Regions from separate parts of the Homo sapiens genome. Here regions 1, 2 and 4 are each linked to region 3. The links are contacts of gene promoters, found by promoter capture Hi-C in blood cells and fetal thymus (Javierre and others, 2016). All regions are on one chromosome and are shown on one strand. Each heading gives the region's core, a stretch centred on a gene start or on the middle of the fragment in contact. The rest is flanking DNA. Distances are from core to core; before and after follow the strand shown.

Region 1 (7,033 bases), core at 1,340-3,839, 220 kb before region 3:
TTAATCAGAGCTTTCCTCAGTGCAACTTTGACATCCTTGTTCCTCAAACTGTAGATGAGAGGATTGAGCATGGGCACCACATTAGTGTAGAAAACAGAAGAAACTTTTCCCTGCTCCATAGATCCAGAAGAATATTTAATATACATGAATGCCGCTGACCCAAAAAACAGAGACAGAGCAATGACATGAGAGCTACAAGTACTGAAGGCTTTTGATCTTCCTTGAGTGGATTTGATATGAAGAATGCTAGTGACAATGAAAACATAAGAAATGAGGATGGTACAACTGGGTACCATGATATTAATACCCACAACAATGAGAACAACCACCTCGTTGACATAGGTGCTGGTGCAGGAAAGCTGGAGGAGGGGGAGTATGTCACACAAGTAATGGTTGATGATATTAGCACTGCAGAAGGTGAGTCTAAGCATGCACCCGGTGTGGGCCGTGGCTCCAGCCAATCCCATTATGTAAGCAGCAAAAGTGAGCATAGAACAGACCTGATGGGACATGGTGACCTTATACAGCAATGGATTACAGATGGCCACATAGCGATCATATGCCATTGAGGTCAACATGTAACATTCAGAGATGACAAAAAAGAGAAAGAAAAACAGCTGAGTCATGCACCCAACATAGGAGATAATATTCTTTTTTGATACAAAGTTCATTAGCATTTTGGGAGTGAAAACAGAGGAGTAACAGAGATCAATGAAGGAGAGATTGAAGAGGAAATAGTACATTGGTGTGTGGAGGTGAGAATTTAGACCGAAAAGAATGATCAAGCCAAGGTTGCCTACCATGGTGACAATGTAGACCACTAGAAACAGGAAAAAGAGGGGTTGCTGGAACTCTGGATGATCTGTTAATCCAGCAAGAATAAATTCAGTCACTAAGGAGTTGTTTCTAGCCAGCATTTTTTGTCTTCAAAAATCTGGGAAGACAAAAGAAAATTCTATTAGGAACACAGATTTCTTTTTACAAAATCTCATTAATGAGGAGGGGACTCAGGCTGTAGGAATTTGGGTGACTTCTTTGTTTCATGGGATCTGAATGTTCTGAATGTACTGCCACTCCCACTCCTCAACATTTCAGTCAGTGTCTTTTGTCTGTACAGACTGAATGTGACAAACAATTGCTCCTGTCCTTACTAGAAGACAGAGAGGTGGAGTAGCTGAGGCACAGGCCTACCTGCTGTTGAGCTTGGGTTATGTGGATGTGTCTCATCTCCCTCGCTTCCATCTGGCCCTTCACTTCCTAGTTTCTTTTTTTTTTTTTTAAGATGGAGTTTCACGCTTGTTGCCCTGGCTGGAGTGCAATGGTGGGATCTCGGCTCACTGCAACCTCTGCCTCCCGGGTTCAAGAGATTCTCCTGTCCAGCCTCCCAGGTAGCTAGGATTACAGGCACATGCCACGATCCCAGCTAATTTTTGTATTTTTAGTAGAGACAGTGTTTCATGATATTGGTCTGGCTGGTCTCAAACTCCTGACCTCAGATGATCCACCTGCCTCAGCCTCCCAAAGTGCTGGAATTACAGGTGTGAACCACCGAGCCTGGCCACTTCCTAGTTTCTACTTATGTTTCCATTATTCTACTAGACACTTCAGTTTCCTTGTGATGACCACCAGGTAAGGGAGGATTCCTTTAGGGCAGAGACCATACCGATATTCTGTTTCCTAGACAGGGGTCTCCTATAGGGTTTCTAGATACCTTACTATAAGAATCCATGAAGTCACCAGGTGATAACAGAAGACCCTTAGTAGTCAAAGCCTTATGATTCACCACATACAAATCACATAAGTGTTTCTACACATTCTCCTCTATTCCATCCTAGCTAGACAGGATGAAGAAAGGAAGCTGAATGTGCTTTCACAGGTCTTTGTAGGAAGGCATAAGAGAAACATAATTAATTTGGGTACAGTTATATTAGTTGTTAAGTTTGTAAAATTTTACCAAACTGGTATTTTTATGACCCTTAAACTCTTCTATATGTATAGCACATGTCAATATATTTTTTAATAAAGAGACAAATATCCTTTCCTGGCATTCCTCTGTTCTGGATGTGTCACTTGGAACTGCTATTGCTATCTTGATACCAGGCTAAGAATGAAGCCAACAGAGAGAACAGTGTGAGAAAAATGCAAGCCCAAGAGTCAGAGCTCCATACCACTAAGTTTCTTGCTATTGAATAGAATACTTTTCCCCATTTTTCAGCAACATCCAGGAGAGAGAAATAGAAACTTGATTAACTCACCTTCCTTCCACTCAGAGAACTCAGTGCTGACCATTGATATGTGTTTCACCTCCACTGCCCTGGAGGAAGAAATGGCTGTGAAGGTATCTATGTTGATCAGATGTAGTCACAGAATCTTCTTCTCCCTTGACTGGCAAAAGCATTGAGCAGAGATCTCAGAATCTGAATGTTCTGGGAATCATTTTGTGGTGTAGATCAAACTATTATTTATAAATTTGCCAAGAGGGTTTGTTGGAAAACTGCACTTCAAACCAGAGCTACCATGTCATAGAGCACATGGCATTTGCTCAAGGCTTACAATTCTTTTGGACCTGATTACATATCCCCCAGTAAGTCTCTCTCAGGACCTCCCCTACCATGACAAACTCTGCAGGGAAGAAATTGTATGCCCTTGTTTACAGCCTAATTTGTTGTAGTAGAGGTAAATTTCTCATCAGGGATTATACAATCCACAGGGCATAGGAGAAAGAGCATCTGCTCTCATGTATAAAGATGTAAATGTAATGATTGTCAGAATTTTTGCTAATTATAATCCTAGGTAGTATATTAGCTTTAACAGGAATGTAAGTATAATTTAGTGAAGTTTATATGCTCATTTTTAATATTGTGAGTCCTTTTAAATAATCTTTCAAATAATCCATTTTTACTTTTGCATACTTCATAGGCATAAAGAAAAGGGATACTTTTAATTGATTTCAGATTTTTTAATAAAAATTTTGTGTAACATAGAATTATCCTTTATTTCATAAAAATGTATTTACCTTGGGTTGCTCTAACTCAACATGTCTTTGTCTTTCATGTTAAAATCAAATCCGTAAGAAAAATCACTATTCATGGGCCGTTATTTCAAGACAGTGTGACTTTAGAATTTCTCTGTAGGTAGGAATTTGTGCTTGTGAGAAGGCATCTATTTTTTTACCTTTTTATTTTAAAATTACTAGAATCACAAGAAGTGGCAAAAGTCATACGTAGATTCCCTTGAACTCTTCACCCAGTTTCCTCACATGGCGATGTCTTCCACGACTATAGGACAATAGCAAAACCAGGAAATTGACATAGGTTCAATAATGTTAACGAAACTACAGACCTTATTCACTAGTTTAACATGCTCGTATGTATGTGTGTGCAAATCTATGCAATTCTATCCCATGTACATATTTATGTAACCACCACCTAAGTCAGGATACAGAATTCTCTTTTTTTTTTTTTTTGAGACTGTGTCCTGCTTTGCTGCAATCACAGCTTACTGCAGCCTCAACCTCCCAGGTTCAATAGATCTTCCCACCTCAGCCTCCCAAGTAGCTGGGACTACAGGCACATGCCACCACCATTGGATAATTTTTGTATTTTTTATAGAGACAGGATTTCATCATATTGCCCAGGCTGGTCTTGAACTCCTGGGATCAAGTAATCCACCTGCCTTGGCCTCCCAAAGTGGTGGGACTACAGGAGTGAGTCACCATACCCAGCCAAAAATATCCATCTTAAAAGAGATGTATAAACTTTTGTTTTCTTATTTTTTATTAGTAATTATTATATGTATTTATGGGATACAATGTGGTGTTTTGATAAATGTATACATCATGAAATTATTAAATTAAGATCATTAACACACCTATCAACTCACATACTGATTTTCTGTAGTGTAAACACTTAAAATCTACTCTCTTAGCAATTTTGAAATATATATTGCATTATTATTAACTATACTCTCCAGTCAGTGCAATAGATTCCAAAAACATATACCTCCTTTCTAATTAAAACTTTGCACCCTTTGACCAACATCTCATTCCCCTCACCCCCAGCCTCTGGTAACAACCATTTTGTTTTTTTTCTTTTTATTATACTTATTTATTTAAAAATATTTGAGACCAGGTCTCACTCTGTCACCCTGGCTGGAGTACAGTGGCACGATCTTGGCTCACGGAAGCCTTGGCCTCCTGGACTCGAGCAATCCTCTCACCTCTGCCTCCTGAGTAGCTGAGAGTACAGGCGCCTGCTATCACACCCAGCTAATCTTTTTTTATTTTTGTAGAGACAGGGTCTCACTGTTTTACAGGCTGGTCTCGAACTCCTGGGCTCAAACAATCCTCCCACCTTGGCCTCCCAAGGTGTAATCTCCCAAGGTGTAATCTCTCACACCTGGGATTACAGATGTGAGCCATCACACCCAGCGTAATTTTAAAATTTCTATAATTTTATAAGATAATATTCCAAAAATATATATATTCATAGTTATTAATGAAAATTTGTACTTTCTTTTGGAACATAAATTCTTTACATCAGGCTTTGTGCTAGAAATAGCTATTTGCAATGCTTTTTCCAGAATTTTTAATGAGTGTATCTCTAGTTTCTTTTACAGTCACTGTTTTAGTTCACATTGACCTGCTATAAGAGAATACCTAAGACTGGGTAATTTATACAGAATTTTCTTGGCTAATGATTCTAGAGGTTGGGAAATCCAAGATTGAGGTGTCAGCATCTTGCAAGAGCCTTCTTGCTGTATTATCACATAGGGGAAATGCAAAGAGACAGAGAGAGAGAGAGAGAGAGAGAGAGACTGGAGCTGAACTCATCCTTTTGTAAGAAACCCACTCTTGCTATAAAGGCATTAATTCACGAGGGGAGAACCCTCATGGCCTAATCACAATCACCTCTTACAGGTCTCGTCTCTTAATACTGCTACAATGGCAATTAAATTTCAAGATGCATTTGGGAGGGGACAAACAATCAAAACACAGCAATCATCATCAATGAGAAATTATATATGAAAAGTGGTAAGAGTTTTCAATAATTTGTACCACCATTTAAAACTTTGCTATTGAAATCAGATTTTAAAAATATAAGAGTTTTTTTCCTTTCATTGGCGTATTTAATGTTGAATCAGTTTGGAATCAATTTCACTTTTTATTTCAAATATTACAAAATAACAAAGAAGCTCTAATTTGCAGAAAGTGTATGCATTGTTAGAGTAACCACACTGCAACCAGCTTAGATGCCACCAAAAGGCTCCATCAGCTGCTGTAAGAGAATATATGGAGAGAAGTATCTGATCTGGGATACTTGGACAGAAGTATCTGATCTAGGGCTTCTGCTTGGAGCAGTGGCCCTAGGATTTCTGGCCTGGTCTCCCACCACCACAGAAGGCAGCACCTAAGGCTGAGCACTGTGCTTCTTGGGCACCCAAAACATAAGCTCCACCAGCAGCTCCATAGGCCTCTTGTCCACAATGGTCTCTGTCCTTCTCTCCATGTGACAGCTGTAGCTGGTGTCCAGGTGGTGAAGTGCCTCTTTGGTCAGGCTGTGAAATAGAACAGTGAGTACCTGACTTGGCCAACTGTTCTTGCATCTAGGCAAAGCATACCATCAGATACTCTCCACTCTTGCCCTCCTGACAGCATCTTTTTAGGCTCTGTAGCCTCTGTGCCTTTTGCATGTATTCTTATAGGGCTTCTACATGAATAAAACTTTCTTCCAATTAAAATTGTATTTATACAGCTGGTATAACAGAAGGATAACAAAGATGTACAACAGTACCCATATCTTCAAGAAAGTCACCAATTTGCAGATACAATACTTCCAAATATCCACAAGTTGGTTTTAAAAATGCTTCACATTCTGAAACAGTTCTTCAAATCTCGAATTATGTTAGTTTTTAAACCTACGTTTGAATGTTTAATCAATTCAGTTTTATGTAAATTATAGCTTTAATTTTAAAAATTGAAAATTTTTGCCAGGATGATGAAAAGAGTGGGCCTGTAAAATAAGTCTGTTGATTCACAGCAGAGCCAGGCATTTTGCTGACTTATCCTCCACCAGGGGGTGCTGGTGACACGGATATCATATTCAGACTGCACGGTGCATGCCAAACCTGCGACTCATATTTTACTTTTGTTTGTAGTCATGGATGCTGCAAATCTTTGTTTGTCTTTCGTAAAATGTGAAGTTTTTTAAAGATGTGCTCTTGAGCAAAACTTAGATCAAACCATTTTAAGCTATTTAATCAGGCATCTTAATGGATGTAGGCGAGAAAATGATAGAGGCAGACATGAGGCCTTCAGATTTCTGCATGGTAGAGTAAGAGCTTTAAACAAATCCATTACAATAAGGTAAGTTTACCTAATAAATGTATATAAATGATGCTTCTTTTTTTTTTTTTATTGATCATTCTTGGGTGTTTCTCGCAGATGGGGATTTGGCAGGGTCATAGGACAATAGTGGAGGGAAGGTCAGCAGATAAACAAGTGAACAAAGGTCCCTGGTTTTCCTAGGCAGAGGACCCTGCGGCCTTCCGCAGTGTTTGTGTCCCTGGGTACTTGAGATTAGGGAGTGGTGATGACTCTTAATGAGCATGCTGCCTTCAAGCGTCTGTTTAACAAAGCACATCTTGCACCGCCCTTAATCCATTTAACCCTGAGTGGACACAGCACATGTTTCAGAGAGCACAGGGTTTGGGGTAAGGTCATAGATCAACAGCATCCCAAGGCAGAAGAATTTTGCTTAGTACAGAACAAAATGGAGTCTCCCATGTCTACTTCTTTCTGCACAGACACAGCAACAATCTGATTTCTCTATCTTTTCCCCACATTTCCCCCTTTTCTATTGGACAAAACCGCCATCGTCATCATGGCCCATTCTCAATGAGCTGTTGGGTACACCTCCCAGACGGGGCGGCTGCCGGGCGGAGGGGCTCCTCACTTCTCGGACGGGGCGGCTGCCGGGCGGAGGGGCTCCTCACTTCTCAGACGGGGCGGCCGGGCAGAGACGCTCCTCACCTC
Region 2 (6,747 bases), core at 896-3,395, 220 kb after region 3:
CCCAGCTAATTTTTTGTATTTTTAGTAGAGACTGGGTTTCACCATGTTGGTCAGGGTGGTCTTCAATTCCTGACCTCAAGTGATCTGCCCGCCTTGGCCTCCCAAAGTGCTGAGGTTACAGGCATGAGCCACTGTGCCTGGCCCAGAGAGGGACTTTGTACACTGTAAAATGCTAAGCAAATGTGAGAAGAAGCAATTATTAATACTATTAATATTAACTTACCGGGCTCTGTGGCTTGTGCCTATAATCCCGGCTACTTGGGAGGCTGAGGCAGGATGATCACTTGAGGCCAAGAGCTCAAGACTCTTGTGATTCACATTCATTCCCAGTTTTGAACCCAGAGTAGAGACAAGGCAGTGAGGGATGGAGCCACTGAACAGAGAGAGAGAGCAGGCAGGGTGATGGCTTTTCCAGCAGTCCGCATCCTTGTGTCCTAACTGCGGCAGTAGAGCTGAGAGTGACCTCTGCCTGACCTCAGGCAGTGACCCCCACGCCTTCAACGCACACCCTCAATGCACACTCTTCTGTAGTCAAAAGACGGACACACCAAATGTTCCCCATCTTCCTACAAGTGGCAGAGGAGTAGTAGCCTGAATTTTAAGAGAGCATGGTGCGAAGGGATGAGGGTGAGTTTGGACTCAGATAACCCATGTTACCATATGAATCTGTCATCTACCAGCTGTGTGAGCCTGGGTGAGTTGCTTATCCACTCTGAGCCTCATCCTGCCGGTTGGGAATGGTAGCTGCTCTCCCTGTGTCGCAGGACTGCTGTGAAACGGCAAACAGGAAGTTCTGGATGTGAAAGGACATTGCCACTTTTTGTCCTTGGTTGGAGAGTGCAGGTCACTACCCTGGGACATGCCAGGAGTTTCTAGCAATGGGCAACAGGGCAAAGAGCCTGAGCTCTCCCGTGAATGCCCTTCCCCTCCCCTAGTAATCTGATTTTGGGATCTACAACTCCATATCGCTCTCCAGTCGAGAATGATTTGAGACCGGAAGCCAATCAGCTCCTACCAAGTCTTGATGAGTTTGAAATGAGCCAATTTCCTCTGGATGAGTTTCTTCTGCTGAATCAGGGAAACTGAGGCTGCCCAGGCCAACCTAAAACAAATCAGTCTCCCCCCGCGGAAGTCAGACACTTCCACCTTCCCACCAGTCTGACTCTAAAGCCCCCAGCCCTCAGTAATGCTTTGCACCATCCCCCCCTCCACTGTGGGGGCCACCAGTACTGGCAAAAGGGGGAGCATAAATAATTTTCTCCAAAGGAGCTTGTGTCTAGAGAAACCAATATTTAACATCCCCATTTACATTGAAAGCGTGATTCTGATTATGAGATGGTAATGAGAGGATTAGGCAGAGGAGAGGGCCCCCCTGCCTGCCGCCCCCTCCTGTTCTTCCCTCCATCACCCTGCATCGCACAGGGTCTTATTCCTGGAGGAGGACGTGGGGAAGGGGTTGGGGCACTCCCACTGGGAGAGCATCAGAGATGCCAGAGCAGGGCAGGGGTCCTTCAAGACCCCAAGTGAGAGCCCCTTATTCATGTCTGGAATCAATTAGCCTCAGAGGGGGTGACAGGTGAGATGCGAGACACCTGACTCTGGTCCTTCCCTTGCCTTTCCCCTACACTGCGCCCCTCTGCTCCTGGATTCTGCCTGGTATTCCCGACAGGTGTGTTTCTTACATCGTTCTTTGTTTCTGAGGTGGACAGCTGAAGTCAAAAAGTATGTTGGGAGAACTTTTGCTTGGCTCCTGGCTTCTCTGGCTGAACCTCAAATCCCACTCCTCTCCCCTAAATTCCTCGTCTCTCTGGAATGGCATCCTTGTCCTCCTTGCCCCAAACCCTGTTTTTTAACCAGGCAGCAGTTTATCTCTGGCTTTTCCTATGGGGCAAGGGATGGGGGATGAAGAGAACCCAAGGGGGTCACCATCCTGAGGCCCCGTTTGTTGGTGGACAATTGCGCTCAGACGGGATAATTCAGTGTGTGATTGTGGTCACGCCCCCCGCCTTTTGTGCCCCTTTCAGAGCCAATCTCCCAGGCCCAGATGGGTTAATCCATAATGCAGACGAGCAAGTAACTGGCTGTCAGCCCAGCCCCCAGGACCCCCTCCCTATTAGTGCCACTGCCCTAATGAAGCCCAGCTTGGAGAGCCCCCTTCTCAATGAGGTGCCGGCCCCAACCCAGCCCGGCACACATGTGTCTCCACTGCTCTGCCTGAAGCCTAGTTCCCTTTAGGGACCCCGAGCCCAGCCTCCCCGGGGTGACCCAGCTGCCAGGGCTGTGGAGGCCCGGGGGGAGGCTGTGATGGATGGGAGGGAGATAGTTAATAGAGCCCAAAACACATGGGCCCTGTCTCCACCCTCCACACACAGACACTTTCACAGCTTCCATTGACAGCATCCCTGGTCTTTCTGAAATAGCCCCATGGAATAGTCCCCACTCCCATCTCCAACGTAAATTGTGCTGAAATAGGATTTAAATGGGGATTATGAAGCTGCTTTTCTGAATACTGGCCCAAGTCATTGCTACACAGCCAACCCCCAAATTCTGCCAACCTCAGTCCTCTTGTAGATTTTGAGCAGAAATGGCTCAAGGCAAGTTAAACAATGAGCTCGACCTTCAGCCTTTAGTGTCTCAATCAATATGTGACTCTTATGCCAAGAGATATTCTTTTCCTTATATCTTGGACTTCCATCTCTGCTCTCTCTTCTCATCCGCTTTTTTATTTTATTTTATTTTTTTGAGACAGAGTTTTGCTCTGTCACCTAGTCTGGAGTGCAGTGGTGCAATCTCTGCTGACTGCAACCTCTGCCTCCTGGGTTTAAGTGATTCTCCTCCCTCAGCCTCCCAAGTAGCTGGGAATACAGGTGCACACCACTATGCCCAGCTAATTTTTGTTTGTTTGTTTTTTGGTAGAGATGGGGTTTCACCATGTTGCCCAGGCTGGTCTCAAACTCCTGACCTCAAGTGATCCACCTGTCTTAGCCTCCCAAAATGCTGAGACTACAGGCATGAGCCACTGTGCCCGGCTTCTCTTCCTATTCATTTCTGAACCAATTATTTAGAGGCAGGACCAGCCCGACAGATGAGGCAGGTGTCTGTAGAGAAGACCTGCTGTTTGTGAGAGCTGCCTTACCTTGTCCTAGGCACTGCCCATCAGGTTCTGAGCTCCCTGCCTCTGGAAGGATTCAAGACAAACCTGGACGACATCTGTTTAAAATATCATAGAAGAGAGGTTTGGGGAGGATGTTTGCAAAGAAACCACACTTCTCTGATTCTCTGCACTTACTTCCTATTCCCACCTCTTTGTTCCCTCTTTCACCCTAATACAAACAACTGGCCTTGCTGGCTCTGGTGCCAAACCAATGGGGGGAAAGAGACTCTAGCCTCTGCGGCCTTGGGCTGTCCTACGATGCCCAAAGAGGCAGGAGTTTGGGGCGCTAAGGAGAGCTGGCCGTAATCTGCCTGCCCACCTTCCTCTACTTCACCCTTTCTAAATGATAATTGTATATTTTTCCATTATTAATTAGGATGACAAAATATCCAAAAATGGAGGAAAGATGGAAAAGTTGTATACATTCTCTCACACCTAATTCCACTGTTGGTTATACTTTGGTTTATTTTTCATTCCATCTTTTTCATAGGCACATTGGAAATCATCCAGCATAATTGAAATATTTACTGAATATCTTCTATGTGCCAGGTACAGTGCTTATACTTTTTCCACCTGAATTATAACTCTAGACCCATTTCTATTTCCTTTTCCTTTTCTAATGCCAGTGTAATTGCCTTGGAATAGGTATACTGTCTTATCATGGAATATTTGGAAGTTTTCACATTTAGAGATACAGGACCCTGAGATGATGGAGGTTAGAATCTATACCGGGCTCCAAAGTCACAGTGAGAAATCTTTTTATGATTAAGACCATGAAGAGGAAAATAAAGCCCTCATCCTGATAAGTGGAGGGCTCAGGGGTTGAAGGCAAGTGACTCTGAGAAAAGTCTAGCCCCATTTCTGATTACAGGAGGGAACAACGCTGGGTGGTGAAATACCATTCAGAGGTTGCTCCTAGGAGATGCTGAATATTTATGAGCTATGCAATCAGGACTTAGGAGGTAAGGCTTAAAGAATAAACAGGCAGCAGGATGGGGGTAGGGGAGAGAGACATGGAAGAGAAGCCGTAAGAAATGGAAAGGGACACACAAACAGAAGGAAGGAGAGAGGGAGTATTTCCCATGACTTTTCAGAATGGTGACTTCTCTCTATGCCCATAAAACCTAGATGCATCTCATTGTGTAGATGGGGAGTGAGGTTAGAGTGAGGCTGGACTTTCCCAGGGCAGACTCTGCTTCTCTGTGGGAATCCAGGGAGATCTTGGAGTCATCTTTACTGCCAGGAATTGAGATCCAGAAGTCAGTGAAAAGGAGCCCCTTACAGGGGCTCAGTGTGAGGCAGTGGAGGCTAAAGATGAATGTGAGGCAGTGGAATGAGGGACTTTAGGGTCAAGAGATCCCTGCAGATAGTGGAGAAAGGTCCAATATTCAATGAATACAAACAAATCTAGGAACGCACACAAGCACATAGAAACAAAGCGATAAAGACTCAGTGATGTCAGGTGGAAAACCTTTCATATATGCATTTAACACAAAAGCATTTCCCTCTGAATGGAAATCATTAGAGACATGGGAATATTCCTCTTTAATTGAAAAGTGGGACATCCTCTGTAGGATGTAGGGGATTTGAAGATCTCAATTGGTCCCTTACTTTGTGAATTTGATCCTCACCTACAGAGAAAGAGAGAGAAAAAATGGGGGCGAGGGGTGGTGGGGAGGAGGGATGCGGGAGAGAAAGGGAGAGAGAGGAGAGAGATGAAGACAGAGAGAAATAAAGAACAGAGTGGATTTCTGACTTTCTGGAGACTGAAAAAGTGTCAGGAATTAAAGAAATGGCAAATACAGTAATCCCTATCAAAATACTAATGACATGCTTCATAGAAATAAAAAAAAAATTCTAAAACTTTTATAGAACCACAAAAGATTTTGAAAAGCCAAAGCAATCCTGAGCAAAAGAACAGGGCCGGGAGCAGTGGCTCATGTCTGTAATCTCAGTGCTTTGGAAGGTCAAAGCTGGAGGGTCACTTGAGGCCAGGAATTTGAGTTTGAGCCCAGCCTGAGCAGCACAGTGAGACCCCCCTCTCTACAAAAAAGAAAAAAAAAACCCAGGCATGGCGGCACAAGCCTGTAATCCTAGCCATTTGAGAGGCTGAGGCGGGAGGATCCCTTGAGCCCAGGAGTTTGAGGCTGCAGTGATCCATAATTGTGCCACCGCTCTCCAGCCTGGATGACAGGGACCCAGATTCTAAAAACAACAACGAAGCTGGAGGCATCATACTACCATATTGGACTTCAAAGTTTAATACAGAACTATGGTAACTAAAACAGCATGGTACTGGCATAAAAAAACAGACACATAGCCCAATGAAACAGCATAGAAAACTCTGATATAAATCCATGTGTTTATAACCAACTTATTTTCTACAAAGGTGCAAAGAATATACAATGGAGAAAGGACAGTTCTTTCAATAAATTATGCTGGGGAGACTGGATATCTATATGCAGAAGAATGAAACTAGGTCCCTATCTCTCACCCTACACAAAAATCAAATCAAAATTGATTAAAGACCTAAAACTATGAAACTACCGGAAGAAAACTTTGGGGAAATGCTCTAGGATATTGGTCTCAGCAAAGACTTTTTGTGTAAGACATCAAAAGCGTGGTCAACCGAAGCAAAAATAGACAACTGGGATTACATCAAACTAAAAAGCTTTTGCACAGCAAAGGAAACAATCAACAAAGTGAAAAGACAGCCCACAGAATTGGAGAAAATATTTGCCAACTAGCCAGCTGACAAGAGATTACTAACCAGAATATATAGTTCAAGATCTCAATAGAAAAAGAAAACCAAATAATCTGATTTTCAAATGGGCAAAAGATCTGAACAGACACTTCTCAAAAGAAGACATACAAATGGTCAATGGGTATATGAAAAAATTTTCAACGTCACTAATCATCAGAGAAACGCAAACCCAAACCACAATTCATTATCATCTTACCCCAGTTAAAATGGCTTGTATCAAAAAGACAAGCAATAACATACCGGTGAGGATGTGGAGAAAGCGGAACACTCATACACTGTTGGTTGGAATGCAAATTAGTACAGCTACTATGAAGAACAGTATGGAAGTTCCTCACAAAACGAAAAATAACACTACCGTGTGTGTGCATGTGTGTGTGTGTGTATATATTCCAAAAGAAAGGAAAGCAATATACAACCAGATGCCTGCACTCCCATGTTTATTGCAGCACTATTCACAATAGCCAAAATACGGAATCAACCTAAGTCGCCAACAGTGGAAGAATGAATAAAGGAAATGTGGTACATATACACAATGGGATATTATTCAGCCATAAAAAAGAAAAAAACCCTGTCATTTGCAACAACATGTAGGGAACTGGAGGCCGTTATATTAAGTGAAATAAGCCAAGTACGGAAAGACAAATCTCACATGTTCTCACTGATTTGTGGGAGCTAAAGAAGTTGATCTCATGAAGATACAGAGTGGATTGGTGGTTACCAGAGGCTGGGAAGTGGGCAGGAAGTGAATGAAAGGGGAAAAAAAGGATATAAATAGAAATATATTTATGACCACTGAACTGTACACTTAAAAATGGTAAAGATGGTAAAT
Region 3 (6,592 bases), core at 1,730-4,229:
CCCTCAAAACCCAAACACCTCACCAACTCGGCATGTGATGAACACCCATAGTTAAGAAACCATGGAGCAAGAAAGCTTGTGGAAAGTCTCTCTCCTTCCTCATAAGACATGCACACTAATACACATACACACCAAAAAATTACACATTTTAAAACTGCTAAGCTTGGATTTAACTGAATCATATATCTTTTATCATGTTATCCTAAAAGTGAGAAGACATAACCAAGACATGGAAATAAATGTGAAAGCTGGAGCCGAAGAGTCAAAGAGCTAAAAAATTAAGTCTAGAACATTCTATGAGGATAGTATAAATAAAAAGAAATACAGTCTAGACATGCTGCAAGGAAAGAAGATTCTAAAGTCCGTTTATGGAGGCAATTCCATATCCTTTCTTGAACGCACATTCAGCTTACCCCAGAGAGCAAGTGAGGCAATCTGGCAAAAGATTAATAAAGATGTAAACCCCTGGAAACCCTTTGGTGTGGCCTGAAATCCTAGGAATTTACCCAGCTTGCTTTGTAGAAGTTATCAACCTTGTCCAAGTCCTCTGTAGCCTCCAAAGTGCTGGGAGATGATGGCTTCAATTTGTAATCTGCTCTTAGGATGTAAGGACATAGTAGAACAAGGCTGGGGCCATGTCTCAGCCGTGAGTGGAGCCTTCAGGTGCCCAGATACACTTTTCACCATCTAAACCAGGAACTCATTTCACCAGGGGCTGGGATTATGGGCTATGGACTTCTTCACAACTGTTAACGGAGCCAGGTATGCTTTTAATACTCCAGAGGATACTATGCCTTCCCTTACAGCTAATCACTGAATAGCAAGCACTTACAAATGGGTAGACAGTAAAGTGCTATTGAACTTCTTTCTCTTCTGATTTATTACCCTATTTTAGCTTCTAACTCCCATTCCTATGCCTGTAGTTAATGGAACTTTGGTCTGACTTCAAAGACCACACTCAGACACAATATCATGCTGTCTGCCATTTTATATTTCTTTTTAGAGCTACACATTATGCATTTCTTTAAAGAATTTTTGCATAGGCCATTTAGACCCTTCTTCGTATAGTTAAGTAGAAAAGTTGTGTTGCTTCTGACAGATTCAGGTAAGTTTACCTAACACAAGCAAAGAGCTGATAGATGGTTTCCTATTGTCACTGGGTCAAAGTCCAACTCTTCAGTTGGTACACAAGACTTTTCATGACCCAAAAAACCCTACTTACTGCTTCAGTCTCTCTTCTTGCTTCTCTCTACACACATCTTTCACACTGATCAACTACTTGCAGTTCCCATACTGAGCCTTTGCATATGCTGTCTCCACCATCCAGCATGCCCCCCTTTGTTCTTCACTGGGCCAACCAACCACTACCTCTCCTTCAGAGTCTGCCCAGATGTATCTCCTTTAAGAAACCTTTCCTATCTCCTCCCTCCTTCCCTGAGTGCTGCCAAATAAAATAAAACCTACCTCTGAAACAAACTTATTATACCATATTAACATTGCCAATTTACTTGTCTGTCTTTCCTTCTTAAATTAAGGTTCTTAAAGGTGGTATCATAATAGGCACTAGGTAAATATTCTTCTAAACAAATAAGGACTGAATGAGTTGCTCAGTGGCATGACCTTTGTGGAGCACACATATCCAGCCTCTGAACAGTCCTATATGGAAAAAGCTTTGGACGCAAAGATATGCTTTTAATGGAATTGACCAAAAAGTCAAAGAACATGGAAATAATTATGCAAAATATAATATAGCCATAACTGGAATATTAACCAGCCACTTAAAATTATGCTTATAAGGAAGCTATACTAACATTTGTGAAACTGAAATGATACAATGGTAAATGAACAAAAAGAAAACTTTATTTTCAGTATTGTCTAACCTATACAAAAATGCATAAAATATTAGACACATATACTAACATGGTAAAAGTAGTTCATTCCAAGTGGTAGCATTATGGATTTTTAAACCTTTCTTGTACTATATTTTCTAAATTTCTAAAGTTCGAATGAAATGTTTTGTAAGTGTAAGGAAATGTGTCCAATGAAGAAGAAACAAAAAATATCTTCATGCAAATCCCACTAAAGTCCATTGGCCAAAACAGCCTGCAAACTAGGACAAAGGATAGCACTTTTCTTCCCCCTAGATGTGATACATGTATATGAAAATAAATAATACAAATAAAGTCAGACCCCAAAGCCCGCAAGGACAAAATACAGCAGAACAGCAAATTTTTTTTTTGAGAGAAAAAACTAGAGAGTTACTGAACTAGTTATTGGCATCGCTGGAAGAAGATGCAAGCAAGCCTTCTGCCATCCAGCCTGGGTCACTTACCAATACCGCACCCTAAAGATTTTTCTATCTTCCCTAATTTTAAATAGACCTTGGTTGTAAAGTTAGAACCATATACATGTACATATTATGTACAGAAATACACTTCTGGTTTCACTAGACAAACATTTACTGAGTGCCTACTTAGTGCTAGTATTAAAACTGCGTGTTAAATCTCTCATCTTCCCTACTAGAAAGAGCCAAGGCCTTTCTTCCTGTTCACTACTGTGTTCCCAGCTCCTGGGAAGATGATAGCATTAGGAGGCCCTGCAAACACATTTCTGTGAGCTGCAGAAAGGAACGAAGCAGGGAAAGAAGCAGAGTCCCAGCACTTGGGCTCACTTTGTCCTACAGTCTGGGAAAGCCTGTCTGCACGAAGCATGAAAAACGTATTAAAACGCAGTGGCCCAGCGGGGGAGCGTGAATGAGAGCTCGCATTGGTAAGCTTCTTGTTAGTTCGTTGGTTCAACTATAGTACCCTTCAGCTAAGCACACGGCCGCCGGCCCTCCCTCCTCTCCTCATCCAGCACTAGCCCCCAGCTGTCTCTTTCCTCCCGGTGCCCACGATCGCACCGCCCAGACCACCCTACTCTCCCTGCCCCGGAAGTTACACACTGCCGACACCGGGACGTAACTTCCGGGAAGGGCTTACTTCCAAGACAGACACGGAAGTGCTGGGAGGCGCCGGGAGCCCGTTCGGTTGCGGGTGTCTCTGGCCCTGCGGTCAGCCCTGGGAACGTCCCGGAGAGCTAGATTCCTAGAGGCCCGATTCCGCTAGCCCGGAACAGACAAAGCCAGCGCTCCCGCCCGCTCCCCGACTTAGGATCCGATGCCGGCAGCGTCCTGGGGCCCCCGTAGCGGGGCTGGACCATGAGCCTGCTGGACGGCCTCGCTTCCTCGCCGCGGGCTCCGCTGCAGTCCAGCAAGGCCAGGATGAAAAAGCTCCCGAAGAAGAGCCAGAATGAGAAGTACCGGCTGAAGTACCTGCGGCTGCGCAAAGCGGCCAAGGCCACGGTGTTTGTGAGTCTGACCCACGTTCAGCCGGTCCCCTCCTGGAGACTCCCTCACAAAATCTTTCCCCAAGCTGTTCCCCCTTCCCAGTGTGACAGTATTAATACAGTGTTGGCTTTTCCGTATACGTTACTACTTGTTAGCCTTGTGTCCTTGGACAAATTACGTAATTTCTCTGTGTCCTCATCTGTAAATGAGCTAGTAACTGTCTTGCAGAATAATGAATATTAAATGAGTAAAGAAAAGTGCTTGGTGCGTAAAAGACATACCAATAAATTTTAGTCATCGTTGTTACTGCAGGACTCTAGGAAATGTGTTTGATTCTCGAGATACAGCCCTGAGAATTAGGCATTATTTGTAAAATGAGAACACTGAAGCCCAGAGAGATGATTTGCCCAAGGGTACTGTGTCAGAGCCCTGACTCCAACTTAGATAAACCTGATTCCGTTTTATGACTTCCAGTACACAGACTATTTTCTGAGCACCTCAAATCCCCATAACTGACCCTTTGCCCAAAGAGGTACATGAAACTGTCAGTAATTTCCCCCCTCTAACCTTTGAGTGTTCCAAGTGTTTCTTCCTTTCTTTTATTGTAGAAGCACTGGATTTATTGAGTGAATAAACTTAATATAGCTTGCCAGCCATAACTTTATATTAGAATAGTTTGGCTTGCCTCAGTGCTTGGAAATAGGGGTGGAGTCCTCAAATGTCCCCCCACATCCAAGTCAACAGTTCATCTCTTCTCTCTACCAAAAGCTTGAACGTCTCTCAGCATTTTTGGAAGCATAAGGAAAGGTTCAGAAATTAGAATACACATTCCAAAAGCACTTATTCAGCACTTGCTATGTGTATTGCTTGCTATTTGCACTGGAGAGAAACAAGAAAAGTAAAACTAAGAGAACTTAGCATCTGATTGACTGTTCCCTTTCTTTTATCCCCTATACGTCAAAGGTACCTAAAGCTTGGAATTTATGTTATTTCAAGGATATTGGTTCCATCAAATACATAATGAAGATTTTGTGAAGAAAAAGCGATGTTGTTTTGAACATTGAGAGTTTGAAGTTCCACCTATGGGGGCATTCAGATTCAGCATTCCCTTCAGGATTGGTGCTTGGGAGATAGATTGAGTCATCATTTACAAAAAAAAAAAAAAAAAAAAGAAAAAAGATAATACTTGAATTCGTATAAGTAGATTGTGAAGTTTAAGAATTTTACACACTAAATTTGATTTTGTTCTGTCCAGTTTTTCTCTATTTGGGTTAGACTGGCTTTGTAAGTTTTTCAAGAGTTGAGGCACTTGGGAATAGACAGTTTTCATATTTATAGTATTTAATTTAAGCATATAAGGATTTAAGCAGTATGCCTTTTTCTTTGCCAAAGGCTATACTAATTAGGGTGACCATTAATCTTGGCTTGCCCAGGACAGTCCTGGTTCACCGTATTGTTCTGGCATAAGCATTAATAGTACCCCCTTTTCACTCAAAGATGTCCCGGATTGGATAATAAATTACATAGCTATACCCTGTCCATAGTAGAACCTGACTACCTTTATCTATGGATTTATTTATAGTTTGTCACACGGTCGAATAGCTCCTTCTTCTCAGTAATACAAGCTTTTTTGGTTTGAAATATGGATCCTCTTCCCAGCATAATAATGTGATTTTTTTATTCATTTTATGTTATTATATTCACATTTTTACTTAAAGGAAAATGCTGCTATTTGTGATGAAATTGCTCGTCTTGAGGAAAAATTTCTTAAAGCAAAAGAAGAAAGAAGGTGAGCTGGCTTCATTTTGTGTTCAGCATCACCTTTTTGGTGATTGATTTGGTGATTGATAATGGTGTTACTGCTCTGGAGACTTTTTTTCCCAGTGGGATTGATGCGTATCGCACAGCCCCTTGGCCACTTGATCAAGCACAGAGAAACTTACAGCCTGAGGCATTGGTGCCTGCACACCCAAGTTATGTTGGGCCATGGCGATGAGACAGCTCCTCTACTCATCTTTCTGAAAAAGCCATCTTGCCACATCTAATAAATAATCTTACTAAGATTATTTAATCTTATGGCCCAATTATAAAAGCCAAGTGATAAAAGCAACTGCCTCTCGTTCTACAAATATTTATTCTGTACGTACTATTCTGTGCAAAGCACAATGGGTATATATACATGTGTAAATAATGTGCCTTTCAGAAGCCTAACACCGTCCAACATCAAGGTAGAGGAACCGTCCAGATGCAAGAGATAAGCTACAGTTCTTATCCTTGGCCTCTTGAAGTATTGATTATCCTCCAGGGCTTTATGATTCATAGGGCCTAATAAGAACCTTTCTTTTATGAGTATAGTAATCTTTGTATATAATTCTGGCTTTTCCCAGTACTTGAGTAAAATACTGAATTGAGACAATACGGAAGTTCATTTCTCTGCTCCTTTCCTTCCTGATCTCAGGTACTTGCTAAAGAAGCTCCTCCAGCTTCAGGCTCTAACTGAAGGGGAAGTACAGGCTGCAGCTCCTTCCCACAGTTCCAGTTTGCCCCTGACTTATGGTGTGGCCAGCTCTGTGGGAACTATACAGGGAGCTGGGCCTATTTCAGGGCCCAGCACTGGGGCTGAGGAACCATTTGGGAAGAAAACTAAGAAGGAGAAAAAAGAAAAAGGCAAAGAGAACAACAAACTGGAAGGTACTTTGGGGAGATGATATCAGTTGCCCCAGTGACTCACCTACTAATGACAGTTAGACCTGGTACTAACTGACAGACACACACAGCTGCAGATGTACTTAGAGTCTCATCTGGTTCTTAAGGAGCCCTAGGAGCCCTTGAGAAAACAAATGTCAAATGTATTAGAGCCACTTTGGGTGGAGAAATTCGAGCTAGACTTCGTTAAATGCAAGGGGAGCAGACTGAGACTTCCCCCTTCCCCCAACTCTCTGGGTTGCATTCCATTTAGTCTTTCCTAGAGGCAGGGAAATGGGCTAGGTGGCCTTTGGAGCACACTGCTGGCTTGGTAAATTTCTGATCTTACAGATGAAATAAGAGGCCTTAAAAAGTATAAGGCCTTTGGCTCCTAAGCACTAATCTGGGCAGGTTAGAAAGCTACTCAGGGCTTTGGGCGAAAGCCCCATATGCCCATTCAGTAAGTATATAAAACCAGGATTGGCTTATTGCCCTCACCATTCACGTGCAAATTTATCCCTTCCCTTCAACATTGGAAGGGGCCTAAAGTGGGTGACCCCAGATTTGCGTTTCAGTTCT
Region 4 (6,212 bases), core at 729-3,228, 150 kb after region 3:
GCTGCCTGAGTACCAAGGGCTGGGAGCAAGAATATACCCTTCTAAGTGAGCACTCATTACATAACCTCCTGTTAATGTACAATGGCTGATTGATCAGTACCTCCAAATTATGAAATCAAATTATGAAAATAAAAATTGGAGCATGTAATGCGCAAAGAAACAGAACAATCCCACAACTACATATATACTCTTAGTTAGGCCCTACAAGTTTAGATTTGATGACCAGGAATTTTATTTTCCATTTTTAATGCCTATGACTGTATAAATAATTCCAGCTACTGTTGGGATGCGATCCCTTAAGAAGTGTGAAGGAACATGATCACACAGTTCAAATAACAGCTCTATTCAAGATAAATGGAGGCTTCCCCTCATTTTGTGTTCAGGCTCAAGTCTGAGAGAAGACCTTTTCCAAATCATAAACAGAAAAGAAAAATGTATTTGGGATAAAAGAAGGAATTCCTAAGAACAACATCTACAGCAGTTGGGCCAAGATATCTTAGCAGTCATCTTAGAACTAGAAGGTACAGGATATTTAGAATTGCATAGGATGTTACCTGTCACTGAGTGTACTTGTATAGCTCAGAATTAGAAATTCTTCTGTGTCTTTGGGAATCCTGCTGGTAAACAACTTGCCAAATGAACAACACCAAGCACCAGTTGGCAGTTTAAGGCTAAACCAAGGATGCCCACATTGCCCCAAATAGACTGGGACATGCAAATTCATGAAAGACATACAAGGCAGAGATGCCCTTTATGCCTTATGCTGACCACTATAGGGAACAGTACCAAAGATATTTACAGGTAATAAGTACTGGTGCACATACATAAAGGTATATAAATATACACAAACATAAGTATCATATATGTTGGCTTTCTTACCCAATTCCTGATCTGTTGGATAGCCATGGAGATCCTGACTGTGGTTTCCCCAGTCCTCCTGTGAATAGTCCTCCATAGTGCTGCCATCTGACTCCAGCTCCTGGTACAAGCCACTACTGTTAATAAGTACAGGCTGGCAGGGCTGAGCATCCCATCCTCCCTGACCAAACACCTGTTCCAACTGTTCAAATGTGTAACTGCTCTTTCTTTTCCCAACACCATGTTCTTTCACCCGACTGTAACACCTGCGAAGGGTCTAAGACACAAAGTCTTTTGTTATTCCTTTAAAGCTGTACTTCCTCTTCCAGGTACGGACCACAGATATTAATTACTATTAGACAGACACAGACAGACAAACATAGACACATTGTTACAGGAATGCTAGATTTCAAATTCATTATTATATTAGAAAAAAATACTAATTTAGCATTTACTCAAACATGTTATAATTAAAACAATTATTTTGCAATTAATTATCCATTAAACAACAAGAAACATTACAACATTATTGCATGTACCCCATACACATATTTTTATACCCCCACCCCCATTTAAAAAGAATAAGGGGGAAAAAAAACAAGAAATACCAGCCAGCCAATAGGATGCACACCTGCCACAGAAGAGAGAGAGCTGCTGTTGTGCCCAGAATTTGGAAAAAGTGAGGGAAGGGAGGACAGAAAGAAGAATTTCCCAAAGCAAAGAATACCTGCCTTACTCTTGATTAAGAAGGAATGAATACAGGGTAAAAATAATTGCCTAGACAAATTAGCTAGTAAAACATATTACTTACATAGTTGTATTCCTTACTAACTCAGTCTTTGTGGAAGCCGCTAAAATTTAAAACAGAGGTCAAATCAATAATGCTACAAATTCCAGGTCTCAAACATCAATGATCAAGAAACAGTACACTAATACCTACGTCTAAAGCTAGACAATCTACTCGTCTGTTCTACCAACTCAAGCTGCCAGCTAAACAAACCAACAAATGAAGCCAGTGATTTCTTTCTGGGGAAAAGGACGGGACAGAGGGGTGTTATTTCACTTCCTTTTCTGCCATGTGGCACACAGCAAATAAATATCATTATGCAAATCCACAGACAAAACCTGAATAATTTTATTCTCTTGTACAACCCTTCCATTTTTACCATGGTCTTTATTTCTAACACATATTTCTGATTATTAGCCCAGTTTCCTGAATTTAATGGTACATCTTATGCTATCTTATATGGCATTTCAAAAGATAAATCAAGGGCTTAATCCCAGCTTCCAAATTTAGTTAAGTTGCAACCAGTCTCTATCCCATCTCTGCCTCCCTTTGTTCCTTCTAATCTCCCTTCTACTTTACTGAGTTTCACTAATTATTTTCTTGAAATAAGATCTCTTTTCCCTGGTGGCTACCAAATACTTTCTAACTCAACTGTTCAAAAGTAGTTCACCTCAGACTTAATTTGTAGGCACTGCCAGACTAAATTTATCCTAAACGTGAGATTGCTCTCCATAAGCCAATATGTTAACTATTTTCACCAAACTAAAACAACTCTTAATAATATCTACAAAGCCTCCAAGGAAGTTCAGTCTCTTTATTTATATATTTTTTGAGACAGCACTTCGCTCTTGTTGCCCAGCCTGGAGTGCAATGGCGCCATCTCGGCTCACTGCAACCTCGCCTTCTGGGTTCAAGTGATTCTCCTGCCTCAGCCTCCCAAGTAGCTGGGATTACAGGCATGCGCCACCCTGCCCGGCTAATTTTGTAATTTTAGTAGAGACGGGGTTTCTCCACGTTGGTCAGGCTGGTCTTGAACTCCCGACCTCAGGTGATCCGCCCGCCTTGGCCTCCCAAAGTGCTGGGATTACAGGCGTGAGCCACCACACCCAGCCAGGAAGTTCAGTATCTTTAAATCACAGTTGACAATCTACAAGACACTCTATCAGATACTTTAAAAATTTGTCCCTTGAAGCCAGAAATCTAGATGGGTAAAAGGAATAATAAAAGCACGACATGTGTGATGATCTTCCTCACACAAAAACAGAGCAACAATTAAGAGTCTCCCACCCTAAAGCCAGCCGGCCTACCCCCTGCACAAGCATCTGCCTCATTCTCCCTTTCTTGAGATCTCTTCTGGAGCCTCAAATGATGCCTTAGAGAACTGAGGTTTCCAACGATACACTCTTTTTAAAAGTGTTTCTTCTTCCTCTTTGTAAAAGATAGTCACAATTACATAAGACAAAACTTTCTAGAACAAACCAGAAATATGAACTTGGCAAATGTGTGTCATGGGCAAACCTTCCAATGGAAGGAGACAAATGCCTGCGGCAGAGCTCATTTGACTTTCTACACACTCCCCCTTTCCCAGCGCCCTCTGCCCTCCTTGCAGGGATTGGAATTTGAATTCCAAACATCCCTTGCCAATTTATTTTTATCTCACAATGTCTAGTTTCTGCCTCCAAGAACACCCCAACCACTCTTTTCAACTCCTCCAAGGACCGTAAATGGAGAGTCCCAACCATGTCCCTTTCACCCTTCCAAGGCCATAAATGGAGAAGGAAACCATGCCACTGCTCACTACTTACTGACTCCCTGGAGAAAAGCATTCAGCACACACAAGGGCCCAGTTGGCTCTGTTGCTGACGGTTATTTCGGAAGTCAGGGAATAAAACTAACATTCCTTTCAAGAAAGGTGCCACACATATCAGGAAGTGACACAAGCATAAGCAAAGCCACCAATCTCTGGCGATAGACATGGTAGGAAACCACAGCAAAGACTCTTACTCTCTTTGGAACCACCAAATTGAGCTTAATACTTCACTTGGCTTATGTAATTGTGAATAAGGAAACTAGCAGTATCTAATGGTTACAGATATGGAAGAAAAGTCAGGTGACACATTTTACAATTTATCAAAAGACACTAACAGATCTTGCTACTTCTTACTTTGTAGTGTACTTTTGTAATACACTTGAATACTGCACTATGCTAGTATGTAAAATATCTATCAGGGGCCTGAAGGAAAGATGTTTGGTAACTTTTAAATCCATGATAGGAATTTGATGTATTGAAATCATGTTAAAAAAGATTTCCCAACTGATTTTAACTCTCTCAAGATATAAATGCACTTAAGAGGTAACTTCTGGGTTCAGTAAAGACCACAGATCCAAGGAGAGGCTATTTAAATCACATCAACTAAGAAAAAAAAAGAGTAAGAACTGAAACTTCGGCTTGACTGGTACTGTAAGAAGCACTGGGATTGAGTTAAACTTGAGGGAGTTTAGAGATGGATAAAAAGGAACTATGGAGACCTTCCAATTATCACCCACAATAAAGCAAAAGAGGTTACACTTTCCACACTCTAAATTAGCCAAAGCATGGAATTAAGACTGTGCGTGTCCCAGTCCTAAATAAACCCACTTAAAAACCTACTCTAGAGCTGAGATTACAATAATGCTCAGAAAAACGAAGCCTCAATTCCCATTTCAGACAGCTCTCAAACCCAACAAGAACCTCAATTTGGCTTTCTTGGAGAACCATGTCCTATTCAACACAAAAATCTTGCTTCCCTTTCTTCTTCCTTTATTTTACTCATCCTAGAAATTTGTAGTAACTTAAGCTTAATAGTTTCTAAAAATTAAGGTCTGGGGCAGGGGCAGAAATGTGCTTAAAATTATTAAAAACTATTCTATTCACAATTAGAGATTGTAATTTTCCTGACTGTTGGAAATCTCCCCGGTAAATTGACATGATGCTGTTGTCTCCCCCTGGAGGAAGAGTTGTGAGAGAATACTGTATCCTGAAAGAAGCTGTAGGGATAGAGGTCAGGAGGAGTCAGGAAAACCTGGACTGAAGAACTAAAGCATAGGTAACAACTTGATCGGTGGTCAACCCAGAGGAGTTCATGGTATTTGATTTGGAAGCAATGGCAAGAGAATGCTTACTAAATCCACCATGCCAAGTGCTTCATGACTATGAAGGGAAAAGAGCCAGAGAAAAGACTTCAAAGATGTCCCATTACCAAAGCAGGGAGAAAAATAAGATGGCTGACAACTGACAATTTATAGGACAGAGTGAAAGTTTTGCCAAAGTTTAAGATTAGAGTAAAAGGAAATGAGAGAATAAAAAGATGACATTCATTGTGGATGAATGTATGGGGAGTCTATGGGGGAGGGGGAAGGTAAACAAAGGCAGGAGTTTTAGATTGGCAGGATTGGGGGTTTAACGGCAGCAATGTAGAGAAAGACCCAGGGTTACAGTACACGTAACATTAAATACAGTGCACAATGCAGCTATCTTGCCAAAGTAAGTAAATCCAGTATTGGGTTGTATAAGCAGAGGAATCACATGTAAGCTATGAAGGTGGCTCTTCCTCTCTATTCAGCACCGGTGAGGCCACAGCTGGAGCACAGCATTCAGTTCTGGGCATCGAACCAGCTACAAGAGAGGGAAATTGTAGAGTTCAGAAAAGGGCAAATAAAATATTGAAAGGCTTGGAAAATAAGATCTATAAGCAGGGACAGTGGTTTCATCAAAGCCCTTCCTGACATTACCTAAGCTACTTTTGGGGTGAAATTAAGGTTTATTTTGCTTTAGTGTCCTCCAATCCTTTGACTTTCAGGAAATGGGAAGAATTAAATTCTTCCCTGGTAGGGCAAAGTAGAAAACAAACTAAATAAATCATAAAGGCATATGCCAACCAATTCCAGTATTGGCTTAATAATTTTCTCAAAGTTTGCCCCATTTCATACAATCATAAAATATTCACCAGGACAAAAACACTGTTCTAGCTAACTGACCATACATGGAATGGAGCACTATAACGTGGAGGAACAGAAATAAGGCATAACAGCTATATAAATGTATTGTTTAGAAAACATTGGCTTGATCAGTCTAAGATGTCAGATGAAAAATAAAGTCAATCTGCAAGGAGGACAGCTTAGTTATAATAGCAGGAAACAATGTTACAAGAAAAAACAAGCAGTGAAACAGATTTTCAAATGTAGCTGTCAAGCTGGCCACACTGGAAATGGATTACATAGTTATCTTAATCCACTGCCAAGTACACATGATAAATTTGAGATTCCTTTTACCCAAATGATTAAAGAGCACACTTATTCACAAACAAGGCCTTAAAAATCACATATTGTGCTCCACGAGAGATGAAGAAATTACATTGGGAGTAAATTTCCAGTGACTAATTTTCTTATAAAATTGTTAAAAATGATACCTCAGACTAAAGCAGATTTGTATTTTGAAGCAAGATCTTTGCAAAATAGATCTTTCTTATACCTTTAAAGTTACTATTGTAACTGTTAAAACTAGTTGCTCTTAGTTAATTGAGGCAAC

Evidence for each region. Contacts are between HindIII fragments. The CHiCAGO score rates a contact against its expected background, and 5 or more counts as called.
Region 1: a contact is called between the fragment with the promoter of OR8B3 here and the fragment with the promoter of TBRG1 in region 3, in 3 of 17 cell types (M0 macrophages, M1 macrophages and megakaryocytes). The highest score is 6.1, in M0 macrophages.
Region 2: a fragment that was not itself captured here is called in contact with the fragment with the promoter of TBRG1 in region 3 in 3 of 17 cell types (naive CD4 T cells, total CD8 T cells and activated CD4 T cells); the score reaches 5.7 in naive CD4 T cells.
Region 4: a fragment that was not itself captured here is called in contact with the fragment with the promoter of TBRG1 in region 3 in 11 of 17 cell types (naive CD4 T cells, total CD8 T cells, naive CD8 T cells and 8 more); the score reaches 7.5 in naive CD4 T cells.

Annotation. Positions count from the first base shown.
Region 1 is chr11:124,396,435-124,403,467 of GRCh38, forward strand. OR8B3 (olfactory receptor family 8 subfamily B member 3) reads right to left here and starts at 2,590. Exons shown (of 2, transcript NM_001005467.2): 1 at 2,256-2,590; 2 at 1-934. The coding sequence starts at 917. It also overlaps a transcript of OR8B2 not described here. The HindIII fragment of the contact is 12,656 bases long and covers 1-7,033 here.
Region 2 is chr11:124,844,229-124,850,975 of GRCh38, forward strand. No RefSeq gene overlaps it. Among named protein-coding and RNA genes, the nearest start is that of ROBO3, 18 kb to the right of the region's middle. The HindIII fragment of the contact is 7,355 bases long and covers 1-5,823 here.
Region 3 is chr11:124,619,885-124,626,476 of GRCh38, forward strand. It overlaps TBRG1 (transforming growth factor beta regulator 1), which reads left to right and starts at 2,980. Exons shown (of 9, transcript NM_032811.3): 1 at 2,980-3,349; 2 at 5,047-5,117; 3 at 5,787-6,019; 4 at 6,589-6,592. The coding sequence starts at 3,200. LOC124902779 (a long non-coding RNA gene) reads right to left here and starts at 3,317. Exons shown (of 2, transcript XR_007062932.1): 1 at 1-3,317. It overlaps PANX3 (pannexin 3), which reads left to right. Exons shown (of 4, transcript NM_052959.3): 4 at 1-472. The coding sequence ends at 51. RefSeq lists an enhancer at 3,057-3,126. The HindIII fragment of the contact is 1,322 bases long and covers 2,773-4,094 here.
Region 4 is chr11:124,773,840-124,780,051 of GRCh38, forward strand. MSANTD2 (Myb/SANT DNA binding domain containing 2) reads right to left here. Exons shown (of 4, transcript NM_001308027.2): 2 at 880-1,135. Among named protein-coding and RNA genes, the nearest start is that of ESAM, 15 kb to the left of the region's middle. The HindIII fragment of the contact is 5,004 bases long and covers 1-4,480 here.